2 separate regions of the Homo sapiens genome follow, and region 2 is linked to region 1. The links are contacts of gene promoters, found by promoter capture Hi-C in blood cells and fetal thymus (Javierre and others, 2016). All regions are on one chromosome and are shown on one strand. Each heading gives the region's core, a stretch centred on a gene start or on the middle of the fragment in contact. The rest is flanking DNA. Distances are from core to core; before and after follow the strand shown.

Region 1 (3,568 bases), core at 242-2,741:
AAGACACAGGGAAAGGTTTTCCTCCTCTCAGATTCTAGAATCTGAAGAAGTTATTCCTTCTGGTACTGCCAAACATCGATTACTTACAGGAATCTTGCAGGCTTTGTAAAGCATCATTTTTAACATTTGGAGCCTCAAATTTTTTCATGTTTTTACAGTTATTCTACAATAGGAACACAGAAAAACAGAGTACTTGGACTGAAAATATCCTAACACAGAATCTGAACACCCTGACTGCAAGAGGATCTCACACGCTCTCTCCACAGAGCTCTAAAAGTCAACCAAGATTAATTTATTTCTCTGGAAATGATAATGTCACTGAATGCCTACAGAGAAAACAAGTAGAATTACGTGATGACATTACACTAAGTTACCAGGGAGTTGAAAACCTCACCGTTTTTCTGCCATTAGCTAATTTGATGAATTTCAAATAAATTAGATGCCTGTGTCTTTTTACCACTCTTCCAATATACAGTTATACATATGTGGTCAATTTCACACCTATCCTGGTTTTCATGTTGACTATATTGCACCACTAGGCTGCACTAATGTATAAAGCATGAATTTTTTTCCTTTACACCTGGAACAATTTGCTTTACTTAATAAACTGGAGAAAAATAAAAACCCCGTTCAGTATACTTCCGAGCAAACAATAAGAATAAATTATCCATAAAGCATGCAATTTCAACTTCTCCTCCGTGCTAACACAGAAATTTTAACATTCTTACACTAACTTTTATTTTAAATGCCACCAGATTTTCCAATCTCACATCCACGTTACAGAGTGTGAGAAAAGCAGAATAGTAGCCAGTAAATGCTAAGTACAAGCTTTCCTTTCTTTTTGCCCAATTTCACATCCTGGCAAATATAATGGAGAAAAGAAACTCACCTGTCAGCGCTGAGAATTGTTAATGTGAACACTGACACACCAACAGAAGTGAGCCGGATGAAAGAGAGCACCTTACAACCAATTCTTCCGAACAGCCATCCTTCTGCAAGGTAGTGAGTTGCATCCACTGGCACACAAGTTAGCAGAAGTAAAAGATCTCCAAAAGCCAGGCTGGTGATGAAAATATTTGGAACTGTTTGCATGGATTTGGTCTTGAAAAAGACTTTGATGAGAATAGCATTTCCAAGGATGCCCACTGAAATGATCACAGCATAAGTAATATAGATGGCACACAATGCTTCTATTCCTGGAGAGTTGTCCCCGCTCCATCCTTTATTTGTGTTATCGTTAGAAACCACAGAGCTTGATGATTCTGTGTCATTTGTGATTGAAATTAAAGTCTGATTAGGTGAGTGAGGCTGCCTTTGAGCCATTTCTTCTGAAGACTGTGTCTTTAATATTTCTTCTTCTCAGTTCAAATGCAGTTGATTGTCACGTCCAATGCCTACGTCTAGTAACGAGATGGTATTAGGAGAACAGAACAGAACAGAATGGGAAGAAAATCCAAGACATCCAGATACTCCTTTGCTTCAGTTCTGTGTGTCTCCCAGCATGCTTGGCTAAATGCTTACCCATCTGGCACTGAAGAGTAGGAGGTGGAGTTTTATTGGCGTGTCCTGTCATAAGGAGAGGGAGGGGGCTGGGGAAATGCTCTGCAGTTGCTTATTCTTCCCTGTTGGGGAATCTTGGGACCAACTAGACCCTATTAAATCGTCTTATTTATTATTAGAATCACCCTGTTTTCATATCTACCCAGGATGGTCTATATAGGTTTTGTCAATTTTTTTTAAGAAAAAAACCATTTATCCCCCTGCAATCACATGGTAGTCTAGTGCATTTTGTTTTACATGATAAATAAGTGTAGGTGTCCCCTGAAGCACAACCTTGAACCCACTCCTCAAAATTTAATATCAGAGAGATGGTGAAGCAACAGATCATTTACACTTCGACAGGGTTTATGTCACCTCCAAGGAGTGATCATTCAGGTCACTTGGGCTTAATACCTAGCTCTGTCACGTGGTAAACCCCAACTTTGCAGTTATCCAGGCTGTGCTGTACACTATCAAAACAACCTTTTTAATTTTTTTTTTTTTTTTGAGATGGAGTCTCACTCTGTCACCCAGGCTGGAGTGCAGTGGCTCGATCTTGGCTCACTGCAACCTCCACCTCCTGGGTTCAAGCAATTCTCCTGCCTCAGTCTCCCGAGTAGCTGGGATTACAGGCGCCCGCCACCATGCCTGGCTAATTTTTGTATTTTTAGTAGAGACAGGGTTTCACCATGTTGGCCAGGCTGGTCTTGAACTCCTGACCTCAGGCAATCCGCCTGCCTCAGCCTCCCAAAGTGCTGGGATTACAGGCATGAGCCACCACACCCAGCCAAAACAACCTTTTAAGAGATGAAAAATCCAGGCACAGCACCAGTTGCTTTGTCTCTAAATGTCCTAATAAAACCACTTTTTACTGTTTGACTGTCTGTTTTAATGCCATGTTTTCTTTTAAGGGGCTGTTTAGGATTTTTCTCTCTAGAAATGGTTAAAGGGAACCTAACCTGCCTTATTCCAAAACAAAACAATACAGAACATCACTGCTCAAGCTCCTGACACAAAAGAACTTTTAAGAATGAAAATCATCATTTGCAGATGAAGAAATGAAATAGGTGACTCCAGGGATGATGGGCATGTAGATGATGTTTACATCAACTGAAAGAAGTACACATTTAAGGCAACCACCTCAGTACCAGCCAGAGAAGCTACTTTTTACAGAAAACATAACCATGTGCTTTATATGTATGTGTTTGTGGTGGGGGCACTGTTTGGGAGCAGGAAGCTAGCAGTTGGAGTGTAGTTACTAATTGAAGCTGCTAAGAAATATTCTCTGAAATTATCAAATGCAATGCATAATCTCTCAGCTAGAAACCATGTAGTGAGGTGTTCATAAATATAACCATATTAGAAAGTAGTCTGGGGAGCGAAGTGAAAAAGAGCAAAGTATTTGGCTAGCTAATGAACAGGGGGAACAACAAAGGTTGTTCTTTATACTTAGTAGGGGCAATCAGTTCTTCAGAGAAAGTGAAGTGGATGAATTGAATCAATTACCTCCTTAATTTCATGAAGGGTGGAAGACAGATGTGGTTTAAGTCCCCCAAACCACACCTATCCCCCACCCTTTATAAGTTATTGCCACAGCTTGAATCACTCAGCTAAATAACTGCCTTTGATGGGAATGGGGGTGCGGGGGAGTGTTTGCATAAACCCAAGTTCCTAAGCTTTCAGATATATACACTCTAGTAATTTCATACACTGGGCTGGTTCTTTAAGATTGTCTCTACAGAAAAGGGCTCCTTAAAGGGTTCACATCTTGTTCTCAGCAAACTAATGATAAAATCTCCCTGGGACTCCTGTGTATCATTTACCAAGGAGCAAACCATGTCTTCCAATTCACACCACAGCCGATCTCCACATGGCACTGTTTTGTAAGTTCTGTAATGCTTGCATGTGATTTCTGAGATTATCTGAATTCCCAGATCTCACTCATGCTTTCAGCAGGCTGCAGCCACTGGAATACTTTTTCTTCTCCCTCTTCCTTCTGATCAAGAGCGGTCAAGAGAGAGTAGTTGTA
Region 2 (3,574 bases), core at 70-2,569, 2.1 Mb after region 1:
GAATTCCCAGGACCTATTTTATGCAGCATTCACATACAAGCAGTCAAATTTCTGGCAAGGTACTAACAAAATAGCAAAAATTATCCATAATAAAGCCAAAATACAATGTTTACATTTGCTTGCTTACCTATGAATACAAAAAGGGAAAATTATCTTAGTCTACCATGCTATATTCCAACCTCTAAAATAATCCTTTTTCTCTAAACTCCTATGGGACTCAAGATATATACTGTTCATTTTGGCTCTTATCATTTTACTCCATTATATGGCTGATTATAAATACATAAATTTTATCAATCAATTCATTCTAGACAGAATTTTTTTTTGAAGAGTAACACTGTGCCTTACAAAGTACTGTTCAGTAAGTATGTCATTGCAAACATACTCTATTATTGAAGATCTTAATCTTATGGCATATTTTTTCTCATTCATGTTTCTAATACCTGCAGATTTAACATAATTATCTTCAGCTACTTCTAAAAATATTTAAACATTCTGATCTAGGACTGGGAATGGTGAAATTGGGGAGATCAATCCAGTTGGAGGAGCACAGAATGAACGTGGCAAGAATGTTTCAGGGAAAAGATTAGCCCCGCTAGAAACAAGGTTGAAAACTAAGATGAGATAAAAAGAAAAATTAAAGAAGCTGAGAAACCAGATAGGTGGCTAGTCCAGCTTAAAAAATGTTATAGGAAATAAAAATAAAACAAAGAGGCCTTCCCTAGAAAAAGGTGAAATAACTGGAAAATGGGGACCCCTCTACCACAAGGCACCTGGTTGGTTATACCCTAATAATGGCTCCAGTATCTCCCTTTACACAAAACATTTGCTCTCCAATTTACCACAGTCCCTACTGGGCCTTCAGCAGAATGACTGTCAGCTGCCATGTACCATCATGCTTGCACAGTATCCATGGCTCCCTCAAACGTGGGAAAATGAAAGTTAACCTGACAGAAACATGTTTTTCAAAAACAATGGAAGACCTCTCCCCAACTCCCCGCAAAAAAGGCCTGCCCCATGTATCAGATATTCTGTTGAGGGCTAATTTCCTGCCTCCAACATAGGCATACATGTTAATTCTCAGCTTATCCTGCTTGTATCCTGATTTCAAGTTCTTGATTTAGATAGAGGTGAAAACTTCTTCATTAATAATAATTTTTCTCTCACTCCCCTATTCAGTTTGCTACCTAGTCGACCTAGTAAACCTTAATAATTAATTAACAGCTTCAAATTAGGGATACTGGAAAAAGAGGTCCTGTCTTATTACAGATATTTGCATGGCGTCTCTATCGTATTGTTAGAAGCTACACTAACTTAAGGTTAAATTGTGCAACATAAGCAGAGTCTCAAGGAGCTGACCCACTGATGAAAGAGGAACTAAGTCATGCATGAGAGGAGACACAAGGAACTAAATGGACTGAGACTTAGCTAATGTCGGGTAGGAGCCAGAGGCTGGGGCATACCTGCTCCTCAGTCAACTTAACTAGGACAGGACTGAAATTCAGTTTGCAAAAAGAAGTCTTAAAGAGCAAAAGGAAAAATATTGCTTTCTCAGTAACTATAGGGGAGTAAAATGAAAATGAGATTGCCAACTTCTACGACAAGGCTCTTGGGGAAAAGCTGGAACCTAATGGTCAGATAGAGCCATAGGGAACTGATGGAGGAAAGGCTGTCTGCAACTTAGCTTTGTCCAGCTTCATTGTCCTATATCTAATATGTCTGTCAGTAACTGACTATCAGTGTATAGATACACATTCTCACAGCCAAGCAGTTAACTGTTCTAAAGAAACCTGCTCCCAGAAAACTGCTACAAATGCACAGACAAGGCAAAGAAGGGTACAAAAAGAGGTCACGTTCTTGAGCCTGTAGGCAAAGAAAAAAAAATGCCAAAAGCTCTTGGAGTAGGGAACGCTGTACTGAGGATATTTGCACAGGAGATACGAGCCAAAAACAAAGTGAAAGCAGCTTACTTTACGCAGGTGCTTGGCTTTTTGTTTTAATAACAGGTAATACTACCTCCAATAAAAACTAGAAAGTGACAGTACAGTTAGGGGCAAGTTTTCAGAGATGCCCCAAAAATGCTCCTTAACTCCAGCTTCATTGCTTTATTTATAGTAATACCTCACATATCCAAATAACTAGACAACAGAGTGGCTCTGAATTATCTGGTTAACTGCTGTTTTAGTTTTTATTTGTTAAATTTATGTGTTAAAAATTCCTTAAAAAGTGCCACTTCATGGGAGGGTGGAATACGAACTCATAACTGTTTCTGTTTGATCCTTTAGTTACTATTTTTTAAAAATACAGCATTTTGAAGGAGGTCTCATAAGAACACAAACTAAACACTACTTTTAAGGTTTAAATGGAAAGCCAGAAAACAGTGAAATCTGAAAGCTGTCAGTCACTGAAAAGTGACAAGTTGCTTGAAAAACAGATTAGGACCTTAAATTCCAGGTGCTTCTAAAAAATAGGGCCACTGAAAAGTACTCATTAAATTTTTACTAGATTTAACAGACTAAATCTAAGTAGTTACTGAATAGATTATTTCAGATGTCTTGGAAATTGGAGGGAAATGAACTAAGCCTTAACCTCATCTCCTGACCTTGCTCAGAATATCACATACTCCAACTCTATCTGACTTTCTGCATCATGATTGATGAGGAATATAAATTATCTTATTGGAGTTTCTGAAGTTTCTTTTTGTGTATCTGAAAGATTCAGACAGACATTTTCTGAGCTCAGATTTTTATGTCCAAGCTTTTCTCGTGTATGGGTTTTTCCAGCTGAGGGTACTCTAAACTGCTATGCCGCTTGCTATATTTAGTCTGTGAAGAACACCTCATCCACACCTATGCTCAAATAAGTACCAAGACAGCCCCCAACACCAAGAATACATTTTGTTTATATTATTGGTTTTGGATCTCCTCCATTAGCAAAAATAAATGAGGATTTTATAATGAAATTAATTGACAGTATTCCCAGTTACCAAAAAGTATTAAATGGAGGCAAATAAAAAAATTATGCATTAAAAAAATGTATTCAGTAATAGCCAAAGACCCAATTTCCTCCATCATTACACTTCCAAGTTTCTCTTTGACCTTACATTCATTCTCCTTTATCACCTCAAAAGTAAAGTTCATTTTAATATAAATGACTGGTAAAATATCTGCATACATTAAAATTAATCTGCATGCCATAACTGGAGCTTTTAAAAAAAATCACATTTATATGAATACATTCACAATGCATGTACGCTTAGCTACACAGATGACAATGAGGCCACTGAATAAATCTTCAGGAAGAAAAGTTACCTCTTTTCCTCCCTACAGAAGGCATCCTGTGGGCCTAATCCACGGGATTTACAAACTTTGTTTTATTTACAAAAAAACTTTTTGTAAATAAAAAGTTTAATTAAAACACAGCCATGCTCATTTCTTTGTGTATTGTCTGTGATTTCAACTGAGACCACATAGCTTACAAAACCTTAAATATTGTCTGGTCCTTTACAGAAAGTTTGCCAACCCCTGACACAAGGCAATGGTCCATAACCAGGGTTGTTCATCAAAAATCACCT

What was found. The method cuts DNA at HindIII sites, captures the fragments that hold promoters and counts their contacts. A CHiCAGO score of 5 or more calls a contact.
Region 2: a contact is called between a fragment that was not itself captured here and the fragment with the promoter of BRS3 in region 1, in 1 of 17 cell types (neutrophils). The highest score is 5.2, in neutrophils.

What each region holds. Positions count from the first base shown.
Region 1 is chrX:136,485,870-136,489,437 of GRCh38, reverse strand. BRS3 (bombesin receptor subtype 3) reads right to left here and starts at 1,491. Exons shown (of 3, transcript NM_001727.2): 1 at 890-1,491. The coding sequence starts at 1,323. The HindIII fragment of the contact is 2,387 bases long and covers 831-3,217 here.
Region 2 is chrX:134,386,720-134,390,293 of GRCh38, reverse strand. All of the region lies in intron 3 of PHF6 (PHD finger protein 6), which reads right to left. Among named protein-coding and RNA genes, the nearest start is that of PHF6, 15 kb to the right of the region's middle. The HindIII fragment of the contact is 2,881 bases long and covers 1-2,759 here.